Regions from separate parts of the Homo sapiens genome. Here all the other regions are linked to region 5. The links are contacts of gene promoters, found by promoter capture Hi-C in blood cells and fetal thymus (Javierre and others, 2016). All regions are on one chromosome and are shown on one strand. The core of a region is centred on a gene start or on the middle of the fragment in contact, and the rest is flanking DNA. Distances in the headings are between cores, read along the strand shown.

Evidence for each region. The method cuts DNA at HindIII sites, captures the fragments that hold promoters and counts their contacts. A CHiCAGO score of 5 or more calls a contact.
Region 1: a contact is called between the fragment with the promoter of PLCD4 here and the fragment with the promoter of TMBIM1 in region 5, in 1 of 17 cell types (activated CD4 T cells). The highest score is 5.7, in activated CD4 T cells.
Region 2: a contact is called between a fragment that was not itself captured here and the fragment with the promoter of TMBIM1 in region 5, in 7 of 17 cell types (naive B cells, activated CD4 T cells, total B cells and 4 more). The highest score is 7.9, in naive B cells.
Region 3: a fragment that was not itself captured here is called in contact with the fragment with the promoter of TMBIM1 in region 5 in 1 of 17 cell types (naive CD8 T cells); the score reaches 6.7 in naive CD8 T cells.
Region 4: a fragment that was not itself captured here is called in contact with the fragment with the promoter of TMBIM1 in region 5 in 1 of 17 cell types (total B cells); the score reaches 5.6 in total B cells.

What each region holds. Positions count from the first base shown.
Region 1 is chr2:218,606,452-218,609,151 of GRCh38, reverse strand. PLCD4 (phospholipase C delta 4) reads right to left here and starts at 1,253. Exons shown (of 16, transcript NM_032726.4): 1 at 1,082-1,253. The HindIII fragment of the contact is 12,670 bases long and covers 763-2,700 here.
Region 2 is chr2:218,673,434-218,676,133 of GRCh38, reverse strand. STK36 (serine/threonine kinase 36) reads right to left here. Exons shown (of 27, transcript NM_015690.5): 3 at 2,369-2,509; 4 at 2,178-2,255; 5 at 661-791; 6 at 1-105. Among named protein-coding and RNA genes, the nearest start is that of STK36, 2.7 kb to the right of the region's middle. The HindIII fragment of the contact is 1,348 bases long and covers 637-1,984 here.
Region 3 is chr2:218,637,245-218,639,944 of GRCh38, reverse strand. It overlaps ZNF142 (zinc finger protein 142), which reads left to right. Exons shown (of 11, transcript NM_001379659.1): 11 at 1,137-2,700. The coding sequence ends at 1,606. Among named protein-coding and RNA genes, the nearest start is that of ZNF142, 21 kb to the left of the region's middle. The HindIII fragment of the contact is 3,761 bases long and covers 1-2,700 here.
Region 4 is chr2:218,589,210-218,591,909 of GRCh38, reverse strand. All of the region lies in intron 5 of CNOT9 (CCR4-NOT transcription complex subunit 9), which reads right to left. It also overlaps the pseudogene RNU6-136P. Among named protein-coding and RNA genes, the nearest start is that of PLCD4, 17 kb to the left of the region's middle. The HindIII fragment of the contact is 1,538 bases long and covers 555-2,092 here.
Region 5 is chr2:218,291,207-218,293,906 of GRCh38, reverse strand. TMBIM1 (transmembrane BAX inhibitor motif containing 1) reads left to right here and starts at 1,404. Exons shown (of 12, transcript NM_022152.6): 1 at 1,404-1,441. The region is part of intron 2 of PNKD (PNKD metallo-beta-lactamase domain containing); the gene reads right to left. RefSeq lists enhancers at 1-726, 909-1,871, 1,872-2,700 and a silencer at 1,147-1,626. The HindIII fragment of the contact is 24,107 bases long and covers 1-2,700 here.

The sequences.
Region 1 (2,700 bases), core at 4-2,503, 320 kb before region 5:
TTTTTTTTTTTGAGACAGAGTCTCGCTGTCGCCCAGGCTGGAGTGCAGTGGTGCGATCTTGGCTCACTGCAGGCTCCGCCCCCCGGGGTTCACGCTATTCTCCTGCCTCAGCCTCCCGAGTAGCTGGGACTACAGGCACCCGCCACCCACCTCGCCCGGCTAATTTTTTGTATTTTCAGTAGAGACGGGGTTTCACCATGTTAGCCAGGATGGTCTCAATCTCCTGACCTCGTGATCCACCCGCCTCGGCCTCCCAAAGTGCTGGGATTACAGGTGTGAGCCACCGCGCCCGGCCAGTTCTTTTATAACACATCTAATCCAGACATTCCCAGCTACATCAATAGCCTCTGGAATGTCTTGAAATTGAGATCCTTAGCCCTACCCAAAAATCTACCAGATCAGAGTTACCCAGGGTGGGGCTCAATAATATATTTATTTTTAACAAGTACACTTGGTACACAGGCAAGTCTGGGAAACCCTAAACTCTCTCGTATCACAGATCTGGAAGTTGTGGCTCCAGGTCCCGTAGCTAGTTAATGGCACAGGCAGAACTAGAAGTAGGTTTTCTTACCAACGTAGCACTCTGGTGCACTAAGAAACTGCTCTGGCCCATGGAATAGGCAAAGAACAAGTTCTTTAGAGAACTTTCTAAGGGACTTTCATAACTCTCTCTATTACCAGGGATCTCTGATTCCCCATGGTTCTTGGCCAACCCCTATTTTGCAACCCTCAACAAACTGTTAATGAATCTATGCTAAAGCTTAGCTACTCCAATTTTTTCTTCCCTTATTGGGGGTGGAGTTCACCTCAGGAGTGGCTAGGGTTGGCACTTCTGGCCCTGCATAAGCTAAGAGGTACCTCATATAAAGGGCGACTGACACAGCCAGGAGGAAAGCTGTAAGGATAAAGGAGGATAAGCTAGAGAGAACCAGGAGGTGGGAGCCCTGTAGAGCTGTTGGGATGAGGAAAGGAGTCTAGGGTACAATTTAATCAGGGTGGATAAGCATCTAGAGGGCAGAGGTAGGGACTCAGGGAAGACAGAGCTTAGAGCAGAGGGTAGTCAGAGCTTCCAGATCCTTACCGTGGGCAGGAGAGCAGAATAGCAGTCCTGTGTTTCCTGTGTCTGTGAGCTGTGCCTCCCGAGCTCTGCGATGCTGTGGGATCAGGAAGCCCAGCCTGGCTCCTTTTCTCTTTTGCTCCCCTTGCACTGGCTTGTTTCCTCCCCTCTTCTACAGCAGCTGGCTGCTGTGACTGGCAAGTTATAGCCGGAGGGAAGCAGTAAGAAGGGGAGAGGTGTGAGCTCTCTCCAGTCCAGCCCATCCAACTCTTAAAGGCCCAGGACACTGGTCAATGTGAGGGAGTAGTGGGGGTGGGGTGGGGAGAGAAGGATTAAGGGCAGCACATCTCCAGGGAGGAGCCTGGCTGCCCTTCATCTTGATGCCAGCCCTCATTGACCCCAATCCCGCAGTAGCTCTCAAAGTGAAGGGAGTGTCCTCAGTTGCAGTGCTCTGTGAATCACTGCTTTTCATTCTGGTTCCTGCATGTAATACGGCTGTTTTTGCCCTTATTTAATCTGGCTCCTTTCCATAGTGTCTGTTTCCACTGGCCTGCTCCTGTATCTCTGAATCCTGCCTGCAGGGCACTCACTGTAGCTCCGTCCCACAGGAAAAGAAAGAAATAAGATGGGAAAAGAGGAAGACGAGGAGAAGGGGAGGACAGGAATGATGATAGAATGTAGAGGGACAGATAGGTTAGAATCTATGTATATTTTAGGCACTCATTAAATATTGAAAGAATGCATAGATGAACGTGTGAAACAGCTCATTTTTTTTTAAACATCCATTCGTTCCTCCTACAAGCATCTGTTCAGCACCTCTGGGTTATAAGTCATAGCCCTCAGAATGGAGGTAGCACCTTCAGGACATACATGCATGTTTATAAAGATGTGTGCAGAGATGAAGCATAGGCTCAGAGGGGAACTGTGTGAAATGGTGTAATTTTAAGTGTGCTGACGTCTGGCTGCCTATCATGGTTTCCACAAGCATCCCTCAACTGCCTAATATTTTACCATTAGTGATTATAGCTACATTTTTTAGTCCCATTAAAATAAAATCCTCCTAAGTGATTACTATAAAAGTCAGGATAGTGGTTACTGTTGGGAGGGGGAGGAATTGTGGTGAGATGGGACACAGAGGGGGCTTCTGGCATAGCTAGCTAAACTCTATTTCTAGTTCTAAGTGCTAACAAGGGTCTTCACTTAATAATTTATTAAGCTATACATTCTCTTGATATATTTTCTATATGTGTTTTTAAATTTATTTTTTTAGGTCTCATTTAAAATATCATATATCTGTGTTAACTTTTGAAGGCTTAATGATTTTAAATATACATATATGTATATGTATATGTGTGTGTGTGTATATATATATATATATATATTTTTTTTTTTTTTTTTTTTTTTTTTTGAGATAAGAGTCTCGCTGTTGCCCAGGCTGGAGTGCAATGGCGTGATCTTGGCTTACTGCAACCTCTACCTCCCGGGTTCAAGCAATTCTCCTGTCTCAGCCTCCTGAGTAGCTGGGATTACAGGTGCATGCCACCACCCCCAGCTACTTTTTTTTGTATTTTAGTAGAGACGGGGTTTCACCGTGTTGCCCAGGCTGGTCTTGAGCTCCTGAGCTCAGGCAATCCACCTGCCTT
Region 2 (2,700 bases), core at 61-2,560, 380 kb before region 5:
GTGTGGTCGTATGGTCGCTCCTCCACCAGCTCTGGAGACATATAGAGTGGTGTGCCTTTGATGGATGTCAGCACCATTGTATTGGTGCTCATAGCCCGGGCAAATCTGCAGAAGATAATGGGATGGAAATGGAAAGGGAAAAGATATTCTAAACCTGGTCACTACTACCTAACATAGAGATATCCCAAACCGGAGCAGAGGGAGCACCTTTGATTAGGTTCCAGAAGACCCAGCAGCAGTCCCAGCCTCTAGCTCCGGTTCTAAAATGAGGCCCAAATAAGTCAAGAGTATGGTCTAAGATTCCCTGTGGGGCCAGGCTCAGTGGCTCATGCCTGTAATCCCAGCACTTTGGGAGGCCGAGGTGGGCAGATCACCTGAGGTCAGGAGTTCGAGACCAGCCTGACCAACATGGAGAAACCCCATCTCTACTAAAAATATAAAATTAGCCAGGCATGGTGGCACATGCCTGTAATCCCAGCTACTCTGGAGGCTGAGGCAGTAGAATTGCTTGAATCCGGGAGGCAGAGGTTGTGGTGAGTGGAGATCGCACCATTGCACTTCAGCCTGGGTAACAAGAGTGAAACTCCATCTCAAAAAAAAAAAAAAAAAAAAAGATTCCGTGTGGAACTGGAAGCTTAGATGGATGCTCAGAATCTTTACCCAAAGTCACAGAGCTTGATGCCACCACCCTTGGCGAGGAGGATGTTCTGAGGCTTCATATCTCGGTGTAGGATGCGGTGGGAATGCAGATAGTACAGGGCTGACACCAACTGGGCAGCAATGGCCTGAACCTAGAAATTAAAGAGGTGGAAGAAAGAAAAAAAAGGTTAGAAACAGCAGCTGGCTGACAAGCCCAAAAATTTCTCTTAATATTACTGCTAATCTTTTCTTCCTTCCCTTTCTTGCAGAGCTTCACACTATTCTTTCTTAGTTATTGTTCCCCTTGTTTAATCACTCTTTCATTTGCTCATTCATTCATTCAAGAAAAATTTATTGAATCTCATTTACTATCTGCTTGACCATGGGCAAACTAAGGTGACAATCTATATAATAACACCATCTACATGGAGGATTATTGTGAGGACTGAGTTAAAGCATGCAAAATAATACTCAGAATGGTGCCTGGCACATAGTAAATATTCAATACACATTACCTGTTATTAAATAAGACAAAATGCCTTTTTTCAAGAAAAGTAGTCAGACAAACAAACAAGACAGATAAAACAAATATGGTGGTCGGGCGTGGTGGCTCACACCTGTAATACCAGCACTTTGGGAGGCTGAGGCGGGCAGATCACCTGAGGCCAGCAGTTCGAGACCAGCCTGGCCAGCATGGTGAAACCCCATCTCTACTAAAAGTACAAAATTAGCTAGGCATGGTGGCGCATGCTATAATCCTGGTTACTGGGGAGGCTGAGGCACGAGAATTGCTTGAACCTGGAAGGCGGAGTTTGCTGTGAGCCAAGATTGTGCCACTGCACTCCAGCCTGGGCAACAAAGCGAGACTCTGTCTCAAAAAATAAAATTCAATTAAAAATAAAATAATTTCAAAAATATGATTACTTACAAATAGTGGTGAGTGCTCAGAAGGAAAGAGAATGCTGCAATAATGAATCCCAGGGGGGGCCTACTTGCTTGGGTACAGACAAACGCCTAGAATAAATGTGGCTGGAGGATATGTGCAACAAAATCCCACTGCTAACCACTACGTCCTGGTGCCAAATCCTGACTCCCCACAACCTTTATTCTTACTGCCCTCTTTCTGGTACCATTACACTGGCCCTTCTTCCCTAAAGGTATCTAATAACAATAATGTTAATAATAGCTAACTATTCAAACACATTACATGACTTAACACTCTTCATCATAGACTTATCAGGCAAACATGATTATTATCTCCATTTTACAAATTAGGAAACTAAGCACAAAGAAATTAAAGTAACTTGTCCAATGAGACCCAGCTAGGAAGGAGCAGAGCCAAGCTTCCTGCTCAGATATTTTGACTCCAACGTTTACATAATTTACTCCCACACTACACTGCCTCTATATACCTAGACTCTTATATTCTTCTCAGAAGTCTTTGAAATGGAGACTCTCAGTGTCCTTAGCTTGCTCTACCAGTTCTCTAACCTGGAGAGAGGTCGGAGGTGGGGAGAAGTTGAAGGCAGAAAGCATACCTGGTCTTCAGGAAGTTTTCCGTCATCTTCTAGGATCTGAAAGAGCTCTCCCTCAGCATAGTCTGTCACCACCACCACCTACAGAGAGAAGGCAGTGGCACTGATGGCTCCAGATTCATGCATTCTGAGGTTGGGAAATTCCTGGAACCCTTGTGCTTGGGGAGACAGGGCCCAAAACTGTCAAAGCACACCTCTTTATCAGTTTCAAAGCTGTCAAGCATATGCACAATGTTGGGATGCCGCAGACCCCGCATTATTTCAATCTCTCGTTGCAAATTCCTCAGCTCCTTCTCTGAGCGCCCCAATTTTGGGATGAACTTCAGGGCCACGACCTGTCAGTGGTAAGGTGAAAAGTTAACGCCTAATCACACTACTGAAAAGATCTAGAATTTCAGCCTTAATCTCAGAGCTCCAGAAGTCAGATTTTAGAGTGTTTGAGTAACTCTTATTATTTCTGTTAGTCTCCCGCTTCCATTTTCTCCATGGTACCCTGGCCTTATCCAGGCTTTCCCCATTCCTCATC
Region 3 (2,700 bases), core at 141-2,640, 350 kb before region 5:
AGCTGGGACTACAGGCACCCGCCACCACGCCCGGCTAAGTTTTTGTATTTTTAGTAGAGATGGGGGTTTCACCGTGTTAGCCAGAATGGTCTCAATCTCCTGACCTCATGATCCGCCCGCCTCGGCCTCCCAAAGTGCTGGGATTACAGGCATGAGCCACCATGCTCGGCCCCTCCTAAGTATTTCTTTTACTTTTTTTTTTTTTTTTTTTCAGTGACAGGGTCTTGCTCTGCTGCCCATGCTGGAGTGCAGTGGTGCAGTCATAGCTCACTACAATCTCAAACTCCTGGGTGCACATCATCTTCTTGCCTTAGCCTCCCAATTAGCTGGGTCTACAAGTGCACGCCACCACGCCCACCTAATTTTTTTGTAGACAGGGTCTCACTTTGTTGCCCAGGCTGGGTCTTTGACTTTTTGAGTTGAACAAGCCGTTGTGTTTAAATGAATTGTCGAATTCCATGAGTACTCTGTGACCAAAAGAGGGTTATAATTTCCCATGGGGAAACCCTTCCATATTTGAGTATTCATTACTGTCAGGTAGCTAGTTGGTTAGAGGTCCCGTTAATCATCAGCATCCATTGGGCACCCACAACATTGATTGCTGGGACTACAACATTGAGTTCTTGTTGATGTACAAGGACGCTGTGTTGGAAAGGCACAGAAATGTCAGACAGGGCCAGGCGCGGTGGCTCATGCCTGTAATCCCAGCACTTTGGGAGGCCAAGGAGGGCACATCACTGGAGGTCCAGAGTTCAAGACCAGCCTGGCCAACATGGTGAAACCCTGTCTTCACTAAAAATACAAAATTAGCCAGGTGTGGTGGCCCATGCCTGTTATTCCAGCTACTTGGGAAACTGAGGCAGGAGGATCACTTGAACCTGGGAGGCGGAGGTTGTAGTGAGCCGAGATTGCACCATTGCACTCCAGCCTGGGCAACAAGAGCGAAACTCCGTCTCAAAGAAAAATAAAAGAAAAAAGAAATGTCAGACAGGACTGGAGGACTGGAGCATTCCAAAGAGATGGTCATTAGTCAACTTGCTGCTTGCATTCTTTATATCCACTGATTGCAGTAACTCCATGGCCCAGTAAACCTTGCTCCACCGCCTTTCAATGGTGATTTGTTCCCTGTCCTGTAGGACTGAAGCCATACCAGTGTCCCGAGTGTGAGTACTGCACCAACCGGGCTGATGCACTGCGTGTGCACCAGGAGACCCGGCATCGAGAAGCACGGGCTTTCATGTGTGAGCAGTGTGGCAAGGCCTTCAAGACGCGCTTCCTGCTGCGCACCCACCTTCGCAAGCACAGTGAGGCCAAACCCTATGTGTGCAATGTGTGCCACCGTGCTTTCCGCTGGGCTGCTGGCCTGCGCCATCATGCCCTCACCCACACCGACCGCCACCCCTTCTTTTGCCGCCTCTGCAACTACAAGGCCAAGCAAAAGTTCCAGGTGGTCAAGCACGTACGCAGGCACCACCCTGACCAAGCCGACCCAAACCAGGGTGTGGGCAAAGACCCCACCACCCCCACAGTGCACCTGCATGATGTGCAGCTGGAGGATCCCAGCCCTCCTGCTCCTGCCGCTCCCCACACTGGACCTGAGGGCTGAAAGCCTGCCCCACCTCCTGTATAGGAAGAGGGTATGGTCTGAGATGTGCAGACTGGGACCAGCGCTAGCCTGAGGAGCTCAGAGCCTAAGGAAAGACTGGCTTTTGGGGTACAAGGGTGACTAGAACCTTCCTGGGACTCTGGCTATAGTACTTTGAAATTATCACCCATATAAAAGAGGGACATGGACTATAACGTTGATTTCTTATTGCTGTACATTGCGTTTTTAACCTGCAAGTTCTCAGTTTCTTCACCATCACTCCATCAAAGTCCCTGGCTATAAGATCTGGATTTTACCCACTCCATCTTCTCTTTCCTTCTTACTGTGTCAATTCCTATTTTCTTTCAGAATCTTCTAAAAACAGTTGTATCTAACCGCATGTGCTGTTGTGCCTAATGCTCTATAAAGCATGTTAAACAGAAAGTGGTTACTACATTATAGATTCATCCAAATCCCTGTCTTAACATTTCCAGGCTGTCATCTTGATCAACTCTGTCCCCTCTCAGACCTCTGCCTCCCTTTTGTCCCTTCCATCTTCACTCAGTATTGATACTGAAACAGGCCTAGGTCTGCCTTCTCCCTGTCCTTGAGCCATCTTGACCCTTGACCTGCTCCCTACTTCCAAGCTCCTTTGTCTACCTGTATCTATAGAGGGAGGATTGCTACCCACTAAGCCTCCTCCTAGAAGCAACTTTAGCTCATCATCAATCCTCAGACTGGCTCAGCAGCTACACTAAGGTGTTAAAGCACAAGGATACTATGGAAAGGCAGATGACTAGAGAGGAAAATCTCCAATTCAGAATTCTATAACTGCTTCACAGTATAATTCTGTAGTGCCTTACTATATAATTGATCATCTAAACTGAGACACACTGGGAAAACTTAAAGAGGGTACTATTAATAATTATGCTGGGACAACAGACATAAACCAGGATGGTTCCAGCCAGACTCTTCAGGAAGGCTGGGACCACATAACCTTTTGTCTGCTTTTGCCCTGATTCTTAAAAGCCATACTCTGTGTCCTTCCTATGTAGCACATGCAAGAGGTCTCCTGGGAACCTCTTTCTCTACCTTTTCCTTGTCTCACCTGACTA
Region 4 (2,700 bases), core at 74-2,573, 300 kb before region 5:
AAGGTCCCAAGTGACAAAGTTACTATGGCACAGCTGAGATCCAAGCCTCATTTGAATATCTAAGGCTCTTCTCTTTTCCATAGGCCAAGATGATTTATTCAGCTATGCCTCCTCTCTTCCAGATGAAGTAAGGCCTTTCTTTCTTTTTTCTTTTCTTTTTTTTTTTTTAGATGGAGTCTCACTCTGTCGCCCAGACTGGAGTGCAGTGGCTCCATTTCAGCTCACTGCAACCTCTGCCACCCTGGTTCAACTGATTCTCCTGCCTCAGCCTCCCGAGTAGCTAGGATTACAGGCTCCTGCCACCATGCCTGGCTAATTTTGGTATTTTTAGTAGAGACGGGGTTTCACCGTCTTGGCTAGGCTGGGCTTGAATTCCCTGACCTCGTGATCCACCTGCCTTGGCCTACCAAAGTGCTGGGATTACAAGCGTGAGCCACTGCACTCGGCTGAGATAAGGCCTTTTTTGTTCTTAAAAGATCTTGAAGAAATAAGATTTTCACGCTTCTCTTTGAAGATTATCTAACAGTAATAAAACATATCCTGGCTGTGAAGCTTATATGTGGCCTCAATTTTTCCCTCAACTTGAGCTCATTAGCTCTTACATAAAAGAGATATTAAAATATTAGTTTAATTTAAATTAGACAATCACGATAATGATACTCTTTCTTGGCTGCTCATCAAAATGAACTGTGGAATTATTTTACTATTTTATTGGGGTTATAACACTGTAGTAGGCTGAATAATGGCTCTCAAAGATATCCAGGCCCTAATCACCAAACTCTGCAAATGTTACCTTAAATGAAAAATGGGACTTTGCAGACGTGATTAAGTTAAGGATCTTGAGATGGGGGATTATCCCTGTTTATCCAAGTAGGCCTTAAATGTAATAACGAAGTGTCCTTAAAAGCGATGTAGAGAAGGCCAGGCAAAGTGACCCATGCTGGTAATCTCAGCACTCTGGGAGGCCAAGGTGGGAGGACTGCTTGAGGCCAGGAGTTCAAGGATGCAGTGAGTTATGATCATGCCACTGCACTCCAGCCTGGGCGACAGAGAAAACCCCATCTCTTAAAACAAACAAACAAACAAAACAACAACAACAACAACAACAACAAGAGAGATGTAGGGAGAGATTTTACCACAAAGGAGAAAGCAATGTGACAAGCAGAAAGAGATTTGAACATGCCACATCGCTGGATCTGAAGAGGGAGGGGGCCATAATCCAGGGAATGCAAGAAATGCAGTTCTAGAAGCTAGAAAAGGCAACAAAAAGACTCTCCTCTATATCCTCCAGAGAAAGCATGACCCTCCTGATACATTGACTTTAGATTGGTGAAACTCATTTAGAACTTGTGACTTCCAAAACTATAAAACAGTAAACTTCCATTGTTTTAAGCCACTACCCTTCTAGCTTGTGGTAATTTGTTATAGCAGCAGGTTATATAGGAACCTAATATAAACTTACACACAGTGAAGTGTGTTAAGTGCACTAATCTTAAGTGTACCTTGAATTTTTACCTATGTACACATTATGTACTATAACCAGATTAAAATACAAAATATTGTATAAAATACAGAATATTTGGGAGGTGGAGGCAGGCAGATTGCCTGAGCTTAGGAGTTCAAGACTAGCATGGGCTACATGGCGAAACTCCATCTCTACTAAAAATACAAAAAATTAGCTGGGTATGATGGTGTGTGCCTGTAGTTCCAACTACTCAGGAGGCTGAGGCATGAGAATTGCTTGAACCCAGGAGGCAGAGGTTGCAATGAGCCGAGATCACTCCACTTCACTCCAGCCTGGGTGACAGAGTGAGACTGTCTCAAAAACAAAAAACAACAACAACAAAAAAAAAAACAGAAAAAAGCAATATTTCTACCAACTCAGGATTCCAGCATTCCCTTGTACCTTTCCCCAGTCAATGTTCTTTCCTCAGAGCTAACCACGAATCCAACTTATTGCCAGTAATTGGCTTTGCTTGTTCTTAAACTTCACATAATCAACATACAGTATGAATTCCCATGTGTCTGGCTTCTTTTGCTCAACAATGCCTTTGACAGTCATCCATATATTGAATATTTAAAATAAAAAGCTTAAAAATAGCCAGGTATAGGGATGTGTGCCAGTATCAAAGCTACCTACTCCAGAGAGGGAAGTGGGAAGACTGCTTGAGCCCCGGAGTTCAAGGCTATAGTGTGCCATTATCATGGCTGTGAATAGCCACTGCATTCCAGCCTGGGCAACATAGTGAAACCTTGTCTCTTTAAAAACAATAAATTGGTCAGGCACAGTGGCTCATGCTTGTACTCCTAGTACTACGGCAGAAGGCAGGAAGATCCTTTGAGCCCAGGAGTTCAAGAGTAGCCCAGGCAACATAGGGAGACCTTGTCTTTACAAAAAATAAAAATAATTAGCTGAGTGTGGTGGAGCAGGCATGTGGTCCCAGCTACTTGTGAAGCTGAGGTGGGAGGATCAACTGAACCTAGGAGGTCGAGGCGGCAGTGAGCCATGCCTCTCTACTCCAGCCTGGGTGACAGACAGAGATCCTGTCTCTAAATAAATAAATAATTTAATTAAAAATTAAAAAACCAGTGCTCACTTAGACAGCACATGTACTAAAATTGGAACAACACAGAGAAGATTAGTGTGGCCCCTGTGCGAAGATAATACACAAATTCATGAAGCATTCCATATATATATAT
Region 5 (2,700 bases), core at 155-2,654:
ACGTGGTGGCTCATGTCTGTAATCCTAGCACTTTGGGAGGCCAAAGTGGGCTGACTGCTTTGAGCTCAGGGGTTTGAGACCAGCCTATGCAACAACGTGAAAACCCATCTCTACAAAACAAACAAACCAAACAAAACAAACAAGCAAACAAACAAAATTAGCTGGGTGTAGTGGCACACACTTGTAATCCCAGCTACTCAGGAGGCTGAGGCCGGAGAATCACTTGAAACCAGGAGGAGGATGCAGTGAGCCGAGATGGCGCCACTGCACTCCAGCCTGGGTGACAGAGCGAGACCCTGTCTGGAAAAAAAAAAAAAAAAAAAAAAGGACATTCAGTGGTGGTGTGGTGCTGACCTATAGCTATTAACATGAGATAAGCACTTTAAACAGAGTTGGTCAACTACTGGCAGCCTTGGTGTCATGGAAAGAACTTGGACTTTGGAACCACAGAAACTCAGGCAAGGCTCGGTAATGTTTCTCTTTTTAAATTGAGACAAGGTCTCTCTATGTTGCCTAGGCTGGGTCTCCAACTCCTGGGCTCAAGCCATCCTCTGGCCTTGGCCTCCCAAAAGTGCTAGGATCGCAGGTGTGAGTCACCATGCCCAGGCTCCAGTAATATTTCAGAACTTCCTCAAAACTGTTTCCTCCTTTGCTACTGCATTCTTCACTGAGATGAGGGTTAAGACCTACCTAACAGTAGTAATCTACATCTCAATGTAGGACTTCTGAATTCTGACTTGAGGAAAGCACCTGCTTTCCTGGTTGAGTAATTATAAACAGAGATTCTAGGTTTGCATGTTTGCAGTTTTAAACTCGAAAAGTGCATTTATCTCAAAAACACAGAATTATCAAGGATTTTAATTACTGATTTATTTGTAATGTAAAAATGGGAAACAAACGGCCTCCAGTAGGAAATTAATTTAATCCGCATAGCCATGCAATGGAATACTTCACGGCATTAAGATTGTGCTTTTGAAGACTATTTAGTGAGAAGAAAAATGTTCATCATAAAACAGTAAAAAGAAGGGCAGTAAACAAAACACCATACAATATACCCCACTGTAGAAAAACAAAATACATACAGAAATGTAATAGCCAAAGAAGGACCCAAAGCGAACGCTTCCCCCTGGGAACTAGGAGGGGTGGAGAGAAATTACTTTCTTCCCTGCATTTCTGTGTCTTTTCTAGCTTCCTATCAGTATCATGTATTGCCTTTAAATCCGAAAATACCCCTGTGTTATTAGTGAGGCGTCGTCGGGGCTCTGAGAGGCGCGCGCGCCCGGGACAGACCCCTGCGCCCCCTGGCGGCGCCCTGAGGCCCCGCCCCACGAGGCCGGCGCGACGGGGCGGGGCGCGGAGCCCCAGCCGAGCCTAGCCCTGCCCGGCCCCGGAGGACTTGCAACACTCCGAGGCCAGGAACGCTCCGTCTGGAACGGCGCAGGCAAGCCAGGGGGCCGGGGCCGGCGCCGTTGGGGACTGTGGGCGGTGGGGACTGGTCCAGGGCTGGGGCGGCCATGCGCCGGGGCGCCTAAACTTTTCGGAGCGCGCTCCCGGCTTGCCCGCTCCTGGGCCCAAGGAGCCCGTTCCAGATGGGGATCTCCCCTCCTGGCCCTTGGCGTTTCGCTCTCCCTGGGCGCGCGGGTGGGCGGCCGGGTCTGTGGCACCTGGTTAGCCTTGGGAGCCCAGCAGCGTGTTGTGGGCACTGGTGAGCGGAGCCAGGGTCTGGGGGTGTCCTCGTGTTCCCTCTTTCGGGCACGAGTGGCCTCTCTGTCGCAGGGCCTATCCACCATGCCAGCCCGAGTGGCCAGCTGTGTGGGATGAGGGCTTTCATGGCCCTCAGCTGGTGAGAAGAGGGAAGAGGGAGGGGAGACAGCCAGGGCCTGGCACGGACCCCAGGTTGCCCCCACACGCGCTGAGGCCAGTCTCGGTGTAGACAGGTGAATATTTAAGGGGTGGGGAAGGGGGGGTCCTAGCTTGCAGCTGGGGCAGAAGCCAATGAGCAGCTCAAGTGTTTGGCATGGGGAAGTGGCCACCTCTATCACCATGACTTTGCCCTCTGCCAGTCCCACTTCCAGCCACTGTTTCCCGGCTGGGTTCACAGAACTACAGGGGAGTAACATCCTCCTCGTGACTTCTTTGGGTTAGAGTGAAAACAAAACAGAGAAACGGGAAAAGGGAAAGCAAGTGGAGAGACTGGGGCAGGAGCCAGGGACCAGTGGGAGGAAGCAGAGGGAGGCTGCTGGGAGGCCAGGCCCTGGCCTTGTGGGGTCGGCACCAATTCTTGTCCTATGGGGTCTCCATCTCCTCTCCCTCCTCTGTGGCCTCTACGTGGTACCCAGGAGTTTGGGGTTCTACCTGAGCACCCTGGACATGGGATAAGTAGGCCTGGGAACGCAGGTCAGAGCCAGATGTCATGGAAGGGCCCTCAGGTGTCCAGTTCTCTGGGCTCTGAAATATTCATCTCATTAGTGAGCTTTGGTTTCCAAGCTGGCGACTTTGGGCTGGCCAGTGGTGGCAGGGGAGCCAGGTGCCTCCTGGGGCTGCTTTATTGGCGCAAAGGGGGAGCCATACTTCCTTCTCACCTGCCTCCTCTCTCTGTCTCTCCAGTCATGAGGATCCAGAGAACCAGTTTATAGCTTAAATGGAAGAGGCAGGACCACAGTGTCAGGGGCCCTGTCTTTCTGTGCTATGACCTCAAGG